2 separate regions of the Homo sapiens genome follow, and region 1 is linked to region 2. The links are contacts of gene promoters, found by promoter capture Hi-C in blood cells and fetal thymus (Javierre and others, 2016). All regions are on one chromosome and are shown on one strand. Each heading gives the region's core, a stretch centred on a gene start or on the middle of the fragment in contact. The rest is flanking DNA. Distances are from core to core; before and after follow the strand shown.

Region 1 (5,928 bases), core at 24-2,523, 100 kb after region 2:
CCAAGTTAGAGGGAGAGGTGTACATTTGTTTCTGCAAATATGTGGTCTCTCAATGATTCCTGCTATGCTTCCAATTTAGGTGACTGAATTCAGTTTGGATACTTCTGCCACAAAGTGAAGGCATGCTTAGTAAGGATTTTTTTTTTTTTTTTTTTTTTTTTGAGACGAAGTCTTACTCTGTCACCCAGGCTGGAGTGCAGTGGCGTGGTCTTGGCTCACTGCAACCTCTGTCTCCCAGGTTCAAGCGATTCTCCTGCCTCAGCCTTCCAAGTAGCTGGGACTACAGGCACGTGCCACCACACCTGGCTAATTTTTGTATTTTTAGTAGAGATGGGGTTTCACTATGTTGGTCAGGCTGGTCTCGAACTCCTGACCTTGTGATCTGCCTCAGCCTTACAAAGTGCTGGGATTACAGGCATGAGCCACCCTGCCTGGCCAAGACAGAGTCTTACTCTGTCCCCCAGGCTGGAGTGCAGTGGTGTGATGTTGGCTCACTCAACCTCTGCCTCCTGGGTTCAAGCAATTCTCCCGCCCCAGCCTCCCAAGTAGGTGGGACTACAGGCATGCACCACCACACCCAGCTAATTTTTTTTGTTTTTTTTTTTTGTTTTGTTTTTCTTTTTTTTAGTAGAGACAAGGTTTCACTATGTTGGCCAGGCTGGTCCCCAGCTCCTGACCTCAAGTGATCCGCTAGCCTAGGCCTCCCAAAGTGCTGGGATTACAGGTGTGAGCCACCTCGCCAGGCTTAATGAAGATTTCAAAAAGACTAAAAGAGCTTTACCCATCATATTTCTGTTCTCCTTTCCATCTACCTCTTTCCATTAGCATTTCTGTTATTAATTTTCAATTACCTTAGTAATACAGAACAATATATCTTGGGATATTTCCATGTTGGCATGTATAGCTCTACTTCCTTTGTTTTAACTAGTGCTTTTTTATTCCTTAGTATAGATATACTGTCATTTATTTTTGACATAATTTAAAAATACTTTAGTAATAATGGTGAAGGCAGAATAATGGTTACCTTTGGAGGGGTATTGGTCGTATGTGGCGTGCAGGAATATCTGGGAGGATGCTATAAATAAATGTTCTATATTTGGCTCTGAGTAGTGATTATATAGGTGTATACACATATATAAAATTGTCATTTTTATACTTTACATACTTTATTGTATGTAAATTATACCTCAATACAAAAGTTTTTAAAGTGAACTAAAATCATCATATATTAAAGGTATTATAAAGTGTTAAATTTCATTTCTAAAGAAATAGGACAGGGATGCAGAAAAGGAGAGGTGGGGAGGAAGGGAGCTAACATTTATTAAGCACCTTCTATCTGTGTATTATATAATTTCTTATATAATTATCAACAACTCTGTGGAGTGGGTATTCTTTTTTTTTGTGACAGGATCTCACTCTGTCGCCTAGGCTGGAGTGCAGTGGTGGGATCATGGCTCACTGCAGCCTCAACCTCGTGGGCTTAAGCGATCCTCCCACCCTAGCCTCCCAAGTAGCTGGAACTACAGGAGTGCTTGACCACACCCAGTTAATTTTTACATTTTTTGTAGAGATAGGGTTTCACCATGTTGCCCAGGTTGGTCTTGAACACCTGAGCTAAAGTTATCTGCCCACCTCGGCCTCCCAAAGTGCTGGAATTACAAGTGTGAGCCACTGTGCCCAACCATTTTCTTTTTTTTCTTTTAATTTTTAATTTTTGTGGGTACATAGTAGGTGAATGTATTTGTGGAGTACCAGAGATGTTTTGATATAGGCATGGAAGTGAAATAAGCACATCAGAGTAAATTGGGTATCCATCCTCTCAAGCATTTATCCCTTGAGTTACAAGCAATCCAATTATACTCTTTAAGTTATTTTAAAATGTACAATTATTATTGACTATAGTCGTCGTGTTGTGCTATCAAATAGTAGCACACATTCATTCTTTCTAACTATTTTTTGGTATCCGTTAACCATCTCCACCTCCCCTCAGCTCCCCACTTCCCCACCCAACCCCAGCCTCTGGTAACCATCCTTCTACTCTGTATGTTCATGAGTTCAATTGTTTTGATTTTTCCATCCCACAAATAAGTGAGAACATGCAATGTTTGTCTTTCTGTGCCTGGCTTATTTCACTTAACATAATGACCTCTGGTTCCATCCTTGTTGTTGCAAATGAATGGCTCTCATTTTTTTTTTATGGCTGAATAGTATTCCATTGTATATGAGTACCACATTTTCTTTATCCATTCATCTGTTAATGGACACTTAGGTTATTTCTAAATCTTGGCTATTGTGAACAGTGCTGCAACAAACATATCTCTTTGATATACCGATTTCCTTTTTTTTTTTTTTTTTTTTTTGAGAAGGAGTCTCACTCTGTCTCCCAGGCTGGAGTACAGTGACACGATTTCAGCTCACTGCAAGCTCCGCCTCCCGGGTTCATGCCATTCTCCTGCGTCAGCCTCCCGAGTAGCTGGGACTACTCGGGAGTCCCAGCACCCGCCACCACGCCTGGCTAATTTTTTGTATTTTTAGTAGAGATGGGGTTTCACCGTGTTAGCCAGGATGGTCTCGATCTCCCGACCTCGTGATCTGCCCGCCTCGGCCTCCCAAAGTGCTGGGATTACAGGCGTGAGCCACCACGCTTGGCTCCGATTTCCTTTCTTTTGGGTATATATTCAGCACTGGGATTGCTGGATCATATGGTAGCTCAATTTTTAGTTTTTTGAGAAACCTCCAAACTTTTCTCCATAGTGGTTGTACACAGTGTATGAGGGCTCCGTTTTCTCCACGTCCTCACCAGCATTTGTTACTGCCTGTCTTTTGTATATAAGCCATTTTAACTGGGGTGCTATATCTCCTTGTAGTTTTGATTTGCATTTCTCTGATGATCAGTGTTGTTGCACCTTTTCCTGTTCCTGTTTGCCATTTATATGTCTTCTTTTGAAAAATGTCTGTTCAAATATTTTGCCTATTTTTGATTGGATTAGATTTTTTCCTATAGAGTTGTTTCAGCTTCTTATATATACGGGTTATTAATCCCTTGTCGGATGGGTAGTTTGCAAATATTTTCTCCCATTCTGTGGGTTGTCTCTTCACTTTGTTGATTGTTTCCTTTGCTGTGCAGAAGCTTTTTACCTTGATGTAATCCCGTTTGTCCATTTTTTGCTTTGGTTGCCTGTGCTTTTATGAGTTTTTGCTCAAGGAATTTTTGCCCAGACCAATGTCCTGGAAATTTTTCTGATTTTTTCTTGTAGTAGTTTCATAGTTTGAAGGAGTGGATATTCATATTCCATTTTTTGTAGACGAGAAAATATAAAAAGGGTGGCCAGGCGCGGTGGCTCCCGCCTGTAATCCCAGCACTTTGGGAGGCTGAAGTGGGCGGATCAGGAGTTCAGGATGTGTCCGGAATTGGTGGGTTCTTGGTCTCAATGACTTCAAGAATGAAGCCGTGGACCCTCGCGGTGAGTGTTACAGTTCTTAAAGGCGGCGTGTCCGGAGTTTGTTCCTTCTGATGTTCGGATGTGTTCGGAGTTTCTTCTTTCCGGTGGGTTCGTGCTCTCGCTGGCTCAGAAGTCAAGCTGCGGACCTTTGTGGTGAGTGTTACAGCTCTTATGGCGGCGCGTCTGGAGTTGTTCGTTCCTCCCGGTGGGTCTGTGGCCTCGCTGGCTTCAGGAGTGAAGCTGCAGACCTTCGCGACGACTGTTACAGCTCATAAAGGCAGTGTGGACCCAAAGAGTGAGCGGCAGCAGGATTTATTGCAAAGAGTGAAAGAACAAAGCTTCCACAGGGTGGAAGAGGACCCCAGCAGGTTGCCACTGCTGACTAGGGCAGCCTGCTTTTATTCTCTTATCTGGCCCCACCCACATCCTGCTGATTGGTCCATTTTACAGAGAGCCAAGTGGTCTGTTTTGACAGGGTGCTGATTGGTGCAGTTTACAATCCCTGAGCTAGACACAAAGGTTCTCCACCTCCCCACTAGGTTAGCTAGATACAGAGTGTGGACACAAAGGTTCTCCAAGTTCCTACCAGAGTAGCTAGATACAGAGTGTCGATTGGTGCATTCACAAACCCTGAGCTAGACACAGGGTGCTGACTGGTGTATTTACAATCCCTTAGCTATACATAAAAGTTCTCCAAGTCCCCACCAGAGTAGCTAGATACAGAGTGTCCATTTGGTGCATTCACAAACTCTGAGCTAGACACAGGGTGCTGATTGGTGTGTTTACAAACCTTGAGCTAGATACAGAGTGCCGATTGGTGTATTTACAATCCCTGAGCTAGACATAAAGGTTCTCCAAGTCCCCACCGGACTCAGGAGCCCAGCTGGCTTCACCCAATGGATCCCGCACCAGGGCGCAGATGGAGCTGCCTGCCAGTCTGGCGCTGCAGTGTGCCCGCACTCCTCAGCCCTTGGGTGGTCGATGGGACTGGGCGCCGTGGAGCAGGGGGCAGCGCTCGTCGGGGAGGCTCGGGCCACACAGGAGCCCACGGAGGGGGCGGGGGGGAGGCTCAGGCATGGTGGGCTGCATGTCCCGAGCCCTGCCCCACGGGAAGGCAGCTAAGGCCCGGCGAGAAATTGAGCACAGCAGCTGCTGGCCCAAGTGCTAAGCCTCTCACTGCCGGGGCGGCGGTGCCGGCCGACCGCTCCGAGTGCGGGGCCCGTGGAGCCCACACCCACCTGGAACTCGCGCCGGCCCGCAAGTACCGCACGCAGCCCGGTTCCCGCTCGTGCCTCTCCCTCCACACCTCCCCGCAAGCTGAGGGAGCCGGCTCTGGCCTTGGCCAGCCCAGAAAGGGGCTCCAACAGTGCAGTGGCGGGCTGAAGGGCTCCTCAAGTGCCACCAAATTGGGAGCCCAGGCAGAGGAGGCGCCGAGAGTGAGCGAGGGCTGTGAGGACTACCAGCACGCTGTCACCTCTCAAGGAGATCGAGACCATCCTGGCTAACACGGTGAGAACCCGTCTCTACTGAAAATACAAAAAATTAGCCGGGCGTGGTGGCGGGCGCCTGTAGTACCAGCTACTCAGGAGGCTGAGGCAGGAGAATCTTGTGAACCCGGGAGGCAGAGCTTGCAGTGAGCTGAGATGGCGCCACTGCACTCCAGCCTGGGCGACACAGTGAGACTCCGTCTCCAAAAAAAAAAAAGGGTAAGTTTGCTCAAATTCACACACACTTGGTAAATAACAGGGTCAGGCGTTGAACTAAGATCATTCCAACTCTATTCTGAACGTAATTCTGAAAAGAGGCTGTTAAAAGTTTAAGAAAGTAGAGCTCATAGGCTGAGTGAATTGCCCAAGATCATGTCAAATCCACTGGTCTCCTAGCCCACCACACTTCGTTAAAATGTAGTTTTTGAAAAAGATGGGGTCCCACTATGTTGCTCAGGCTGGTCTTGAACTCCTGGGCTGAAGTGATCCTTCTGTGTGAGCCTCCTGAATAGCTGGGACTACAGGGCGTGCCACCATGCCCAGCTCCACACTGCACTTCTGTGCAACAACCGACTTCCTCTCCATTTAATTTTCAGAATGTCCAATAATGTTATTCTTTTTTAGATCCTGGATGAAAATACTTTAAGTGAGGATTTACTGTTGGAGAAACTTCTAGAAATTTCCTACTGTCAAAGAATCAAACATTTGGGCCGGGCACAGTGGCTCACGCCTGTAATCCCAGCACTTTGGGAGGCCGAGACGGGCGGATCACCTGAGTTAGGGAGTTTGAGACCAGCCTGACCAACATGGAGAAACCCCGTCTCTACTAAAAATACAAAAAATTAACCAGGCGTTGGTGGTGCATGCCTGTAATACCAGCTACTTGGGAGGATGAGGCAGAAGAATTGCTTGAACCCGGGAGGCGGAGGTTGCGGTGAGCCGAGATCGTGCCATTGCCCTCCAGCCTGGGCAACAAAAGCGAGACTCTGTCTCAAAAA
Region 2 (6,243 bases), core at 1,318-3,817:
TCTCTGAAATTCTCAAGTTCAGTGAAACAGTTTAAGAAGCAGTGATCTAATCCAAACTTCTCATTTTATAGGTAAAGGAATTAAGAGTCCAAGATAAGTTATCTGCCTGAGGTCACATCTTGCTTCACTAATATTAATTTTCCTAAAATTAAGTGTTTGGGATTAACAATACTAATGTTGACATTCAATTACTTCCAAACCAAGGCAACCAAAGCCATGAGATTCTACAATGTGTAACCAAGAATCTGTGAATAGTGTGACAGTTATCCACGATGCCAATCTAGTAAGTATTTATGGGGTGAGCACCAAAGGGCAGCAAAACCAAAAGACATAATCATCCTCAAAGACAATGGTTAAAAACACCTCTTTGGAAAATAAAGAGTTAAATATTTGTGAAAACACACCCAATAGTGCCCACTACTCCACTCCTTTCACCCAGTCACATACTCTATAATCTTAGTGAGACCTCTGAGTCTGAAAAATAAGCTGCTGCTTCTACCAAATAAAGCTAACGTTTATCATAAGGCAACATCTACAAATAATTCTTTATTACATTCAAACAGGAGACAGCAATCTAAATTATACAAAATGTCTAACCCAAAAAATCATGAATTAAGCTTTTTGTACTTACTTGAGTAGGGCTGCATCTGGTTTCTGGGAAATTCACCACACAAAAAGCAAAATAACGGAGACAATCTTTGAAGGTCAGACTCAACAAGAGTTAAAAGCTATTGAGCGTCTCTATTTTGCCCCTCCCCCAAAGGTCCTCCCCCTCAATTCGGCTCTCAAAGGATAGCACCACCATGTGAAATGTCCTCCTCCCCATCTGAATCTGCTGAAATCCTACTCATCCTTAAAGGTTTCACTTAAATGCCGAGGCTTCCATGCATTCCTCCCTCAATTTAGAATTAATCTCTCTTCTTCGCTCTCCTATTCTATACCTCAACATTTTACTATATAGTTCACTGTATTACACTTACCTACATTCACTAACCCCCCGCACCGCACCCCCAAAAAAACCACCCCGAGGAGGAAAGGAATTTAAGGTGCTGTTAAACACCTCTATGCCAGGCAAGGTGCTACGCATTTTGCATACATTATCTCATTTAATCTACATGAAAAACATCTGGGGAGGTAAACAGGTGGTGTTATTCCCATTTTACTGATAGGGAACGTACTGCAGAGTTCAATAGCTTATCCAACTCACATTGCAAGCCAATTCCAGGGCGTACGGTTTCCCCCACTCCGAAGAGCTCTTTCCACCACCCCATGCTTGTTCACCTGGTGTCACCCAGCCTAACTGACAGAGTAGGTATTCCATAAATGTTTGCTGAATTTAATATCCCCATGGACTGACTCTTTAATAATCCGATCACGCCTCATCCCTAACCCGTTACCTTTACTGTTCCTTAACGGTGGACTTTACCTACATAAGCAGCTCTCCACATTTCCCTGAGAAATGCTGCAGACAACATCAACCCTTATTGGAAGATTGAGTGAAGAACTTTTCCATTCTCCCGGATTTCCCCAACGGATCTTCCCAAAGAATTTAAGAAATGCACACACGCAAGACACATGTAACACTTACACCCTCCCTCAAGGCTCTTATTTCATATTAAACCATGTCTTCGAGCTTGTAAGCAATAAGGTTTATGCGGTTTCCAGCTCACACAGTGGGGACACCCTAAGTCACTGCCTTAAGAAAACCACATCTTTCAACCTGTCTTAACACGAAGGCATCCTAATACTATCACACTGCCCCCTCCCTCCGTCCACCCCCCCCCCCCCCCCATGAATTGCAGTTTGGATTTCCGGCGGGAATGTATAATACAGACCGCAAGAGGAGACGCGGTTAAAAAGCAATGAAGCAATTACTTATCCTGTTTAATTAGAAAGAAGACACAGAAGGAGCCCCGCCTTTCAAAATCTCTGCACTGAACTCATCTATGAAAGATGGGGGCATCGAAACCCAAGCAACCCGACATCCAGTAGCTGGTTTCTGCAGCTGGGCGGGGGAAAGTCCTTTCCTCCCTGCGGTCCCGGGCCACCAGCCCCCGGTGCTGGGTCGGAGAAGCCTAACCGCACCCTCCCAGGCGGCCCCTTATCTCATTGTCTCCCTCCGTCGCGGTCCCCAGGGGCGCAGGGTGCAGTCCAGGCCCCACCGACCTCCATCCACCAGCCGGGAGCGGTCCAGCCAGCCCCGGCCCGATCCCCAACCTGGCAACGACCCCGCCCCAGGCTGCCGCCGACCGTACCGCACCCGGATGGCGGGGCCGGGCGCCGGGAAAATGGAGGCGGGAGCGGCAGGAGCGCCTCACGGCCCCGCGCCCAGCCGGCTCCCTACCCCCTGGCCCCGAGGGCGAGGCTAACCACTCACCGCGGCAGTCGGTCGGCCTTCCCGCGGCCCCGGGCAAGGAAACCGCCGCTCGCGCTCCTCCAGCCGCTGCCTCCGCCTCCTCCCCAGGCGCGGCGCTCCCTCGCCAGAGACGCAGCGACTGCCAGCAGCTCCCGCGCCGCGCGCTCAGTGACTGACTGACTGACTGACTGACTGACTGACTGACTGACTGGCGGGCGGCGGCGGGAGCGGGGGCGGGGCGGCCGCAGCGCCCCGCGGCGGCGGCGGCGGCGGCGGAGCCGAGTGTGCTCGCGTCCAGCCGAGACGCAGAAGGCGGGGTTGAGGGCCGGACTGCCGACTGTAGGGCCGACTCGCGCGGGACCGCGCGCCGCCCCCGCCCGCCGCCAACCACTCACTTCCGGCGCAGGCCGCCGCGCCCGCCGCCCTTCCCTAGCCCGCGCCCCGCGCCGGCCCTCCGCCCTCCCTTCAGGCGCCCGGCCGCGCCCGGCCGCACTCAACCGCGGCTCCGCTCGTGCCTCGCCTTTCCTCCGCAAGTCCCTGTGAGCCGCCTACAGGAACGAGTGAATCAGAGAATGAATGAGTGGGGAGGAAAATCCCAGTGCTGCCCCACCCCCTGCTCGCCTTTCATAGGAAGCCGGCCCAGCAGCCTCTGTCCTAGCGCCCTGGGAGGCACAGCAGCCTCCAGCAGTTCTGTCAGGGAGCTGTACGCATCCACCTTTATACGCTGTCCGTGTATTCAGAGACTCCAGAAACGCATCCGGGGTTGGCTCGGTCACTTACAGGACCATTGTCGTTGAGATCTGTGAGGCCCTTCTTTAGGAAATCCCATTTTGGCCAAAAAGTCTCTGCAGTTTCATGGAATGTATTGGGAAACTTAGGAACGGGACATTTCGATGACCTTTACTTTTTAAACTTCGAAATCTGTTAATCCTGCCTCCTTAATTTCTGTCCCCCCACCCCATCGGAATTGTGTAGTAGTAAGGTGTCGGCATTTTTCCTTATCGCTAAGCTCAGCTGCTGCCTCTTTAGATGCAGGCTTGACTTCGGCAGACTTTTAGATTTTAAGTATGTCCTTATTTTGACCTTCACCTAAAGTTGATCAAAGAAAGGAACAAATGGAACTAAGTTATGTTTGCTTGGCTACATGCAAAGCAAGTTTGTTGACAGCATTAAAACAATTGAGAAATTGGGAGTGTGACCTGAAATTGGTTGCAATGAACATTGCTTTTTCATGTCTTCCCATCTGCTTGCTAAGAATTTATTTAAATTTTCACAAAGCATTGACTGTACATTCCTGAAATCCTAGCTCCCTCTCTAAGAATGAGAGTGTTCATTTCTCTGTCCTGGGGCCAAATCCTGGTTTGGTTAATTACATTCTTACTTCCTGATATTCTTGAGGACTTTCAAGTGGTTTCAGTCTTTTTTGTACAATCTGTTCCAAACTGGTACACAATCTGTTTCAAATTGGTATTTAGAACCATACAATACAGATACTGGCTGCCTTTCACACTTGAGATATCTGTACTTTTGAAACATAACTGCCCTTTTGTATTTTAAGTTCAGTAGGTATGTCAATATTCTTGTATAGAATAATACTATCTCTTGACTGGATTAAGAAAATGTGGCACATATACACCACGGAATACTATGCAGCCATAAAAAAGGTTGAGTTAATGTCCTTTGTAGGGACATGGATGAAGCTGGAAACCATCATTCTCAGCAAACTATCGCAAGGACAGAAAACCAAACACCACATGATCTCACTCATAGGTGGGACTTGAACAATGAGAACACTTGGACACAAAGCAGGGAATATATCACACAGGGGCCTGTTGGGGGGATGGAGAGGGGGGAGGGATAGCATTAGGAGATATACCTAATGTAAATGATGAGTTAATGGGTGCAGCACACCAACATGGCACATGTATACATATGTAACAAAGCTGCACGTTGTGCACATGTACCCTAGAACTTAAAGTATAATAAAAAATAAAAATAATAAAAGAATAATACTATCTCTTATAAATGAAGATGATCCTGCTGACCAACTTCTTTTAGACTTCTCTTCCTTTCTTGTGGGAATCATCATTTGCCACCTAATTATTTCAAGAAGTTATCCTCCAAAAGTGAATATAATACAACACTTTATTCATCCTTGTATCTCCCACAATATCTAGCATAGTATCTTGCACAATAAGTATTTATAAATTAATAAATGCTTTAAAATTTTTCATAAGTGATAATTTTATACAAATGTATCTAGTCTTTCACCTCATTTCCCTTGTGACCAAGTTTGTTGACATTAGACACACCTGGGTGCCAAACTTAATGAATCCTATTGTCATTAAATGTACTAGGCTGTGTGATACCTTACAAGGAAGATGATTCATTTAAACCTCCTTAAAAAAATAGACGATTGAAGCCAGGAGTGGTGGCTCGCACCTGTAATCCCAGCACTTTGGGAGGCTGAGGTGGGCGGATCACCTGAGGTCAGGAGTTGGAGACTAGCCTGGCCAACATGGTGAAATCCCATCTCTACTAAAAATACAAAAATGAGCTGAGCATGGTGGCGGGTGCCTGTAATCCCAGCTACTCAGGAGGCTGAGGCAGGAGAATCACTTGAACTTGGGAGTGGAGCTTGCAGTGAGCCAAGATCCTGCCATTGCACTCCAACCTGGGTGACAAGAGTGAGACTCCATCTCAGAAAAAAAAAAAAAATAGACCATTGAGTGCCTTTTACATAGGTCTTAGCCAACTCTTCTCCAAGTGCTTAGCCTAAGATCAAGGTTAATTAAAAGAGAAAAAAGGTCACTTTCAGTCATTGAGAAAAGAGTGTTCTCATCAGTTTCTTTAAACCATTAAATCATTCGTTCATTCAATCAGAGTTTATTAAGCTACAATTAAGGCCCAGGAATACAAAGACAAGAAAGACGTGGCATGATGCTTCCTGCCTACAAAAAGCATACAGTCTAGTGGGTAAAGCAGGTAAGGAAGTCATTGTTAGACTGGAAGTCCATTACCAGATCAGGAAAGCCTTCCTGATGGGGAGATTCTTGAACTGAATGTTAAATGATAGGGAGGAGCTAACCAGAAGAAGGAGGGAACAAGCATTCCAAACGAAGAAAACAATATCTCTGCAGGTGTGTGGAAGCACCAAGCATCACCATGCTTTAGAGGCACCGTAAGTGTATTAGTCCGTTTTCATGCTGCTGATAAACACATACCTGAGACTGGGAAGAAAAAGAGGTTTAATGGACTTACAGTTCCACATGGCTGGGGAGGACTCACAATCATGGCAGAAGGTGATGAGGAGCAAGTCACATCTTACATGGATGGCAGCAGGCAAAAAGAGAGCTTGTGCAGGGAAACTCCCATTTTTAAAACCATCAGATCTCATGAGACTTATTCACTATTATGAGAACAGCACGGGAAAGACCCACCCCCATGATTCAACTATCTCCCACTGGGTCCCTCCTACAGCAGGTGGAAATTATGGGAGCTATAAGATGAGATTTGGGTGGGGACACAGAGACAAACCGTATTAGTAAGTAATTCCATTTTGTCAGAACAGGCATAGAGAAGAGTCAAAGAGGTTGGAGGAAAGGGTAGGAAGGGCTTCATTCATGAAGGGGCTCTTGTTAAACTAAGGAATTTGAATTTGATACTCTGGGAAATGTAGTAAATAATAAAATATTTGAAGTATTTTAGCTCCAGAACAACTGAGTTTGTGTTTTGGAGACCAAGAAGACCAGACTGGAGCAGGAGAAAATTAGGAGGTGATGGCAACAACCTGAATCCTAATGAGATGTGTGCTGCAGGTCTCAATAAAATCAAGAGGTCATAAAATGGCGAGGAGGGACTAGATGGGAGATATATTAAACAGGTAG

What was found. The method cuts DNA at HindIII sites, captures the fragments that hold promoters and counts their contacts. A CHiCAGO score of 5 or more calls a contact.
Region 1: a fragment that was not itself captured here is called in contact with the fragment with the promoter of RAPH1 in region 2 in 1 of 17 cell types (M0 macrophages); the score reaches 5.0 in M0 macrophages.

Annotation. Positions count from the first base shown.
Region 1 is chr2:203,638,469-203,644,396 of GRCh38, forward strand. No RefSeq gene overlaps it. Among named protein-coding and RNA genes, the nearest start is that of CD28, 65 kb to the right of the region's middle. The HindIII fragment of the contact is 3,710 bases long and covers 1-3,128 here.
Region 2 is chr2:203,532,734-203,538,976 of GRCh38, forward strand. It overlaps RAPH1 (Ras association (RalGDS/AF-6) and pleckstrin homology domains 1), which reads right to left and starts at 2,568. Exons shown (of 14, transcript NM_213589.3): 1 at 2,378-2,568. RefSeq lists silencers at 2,337-2,436, 2,507-2,596, 2,647-2,716. The HindIII fragment of the contact is 18,695 bases long and covers 616-6,243 here.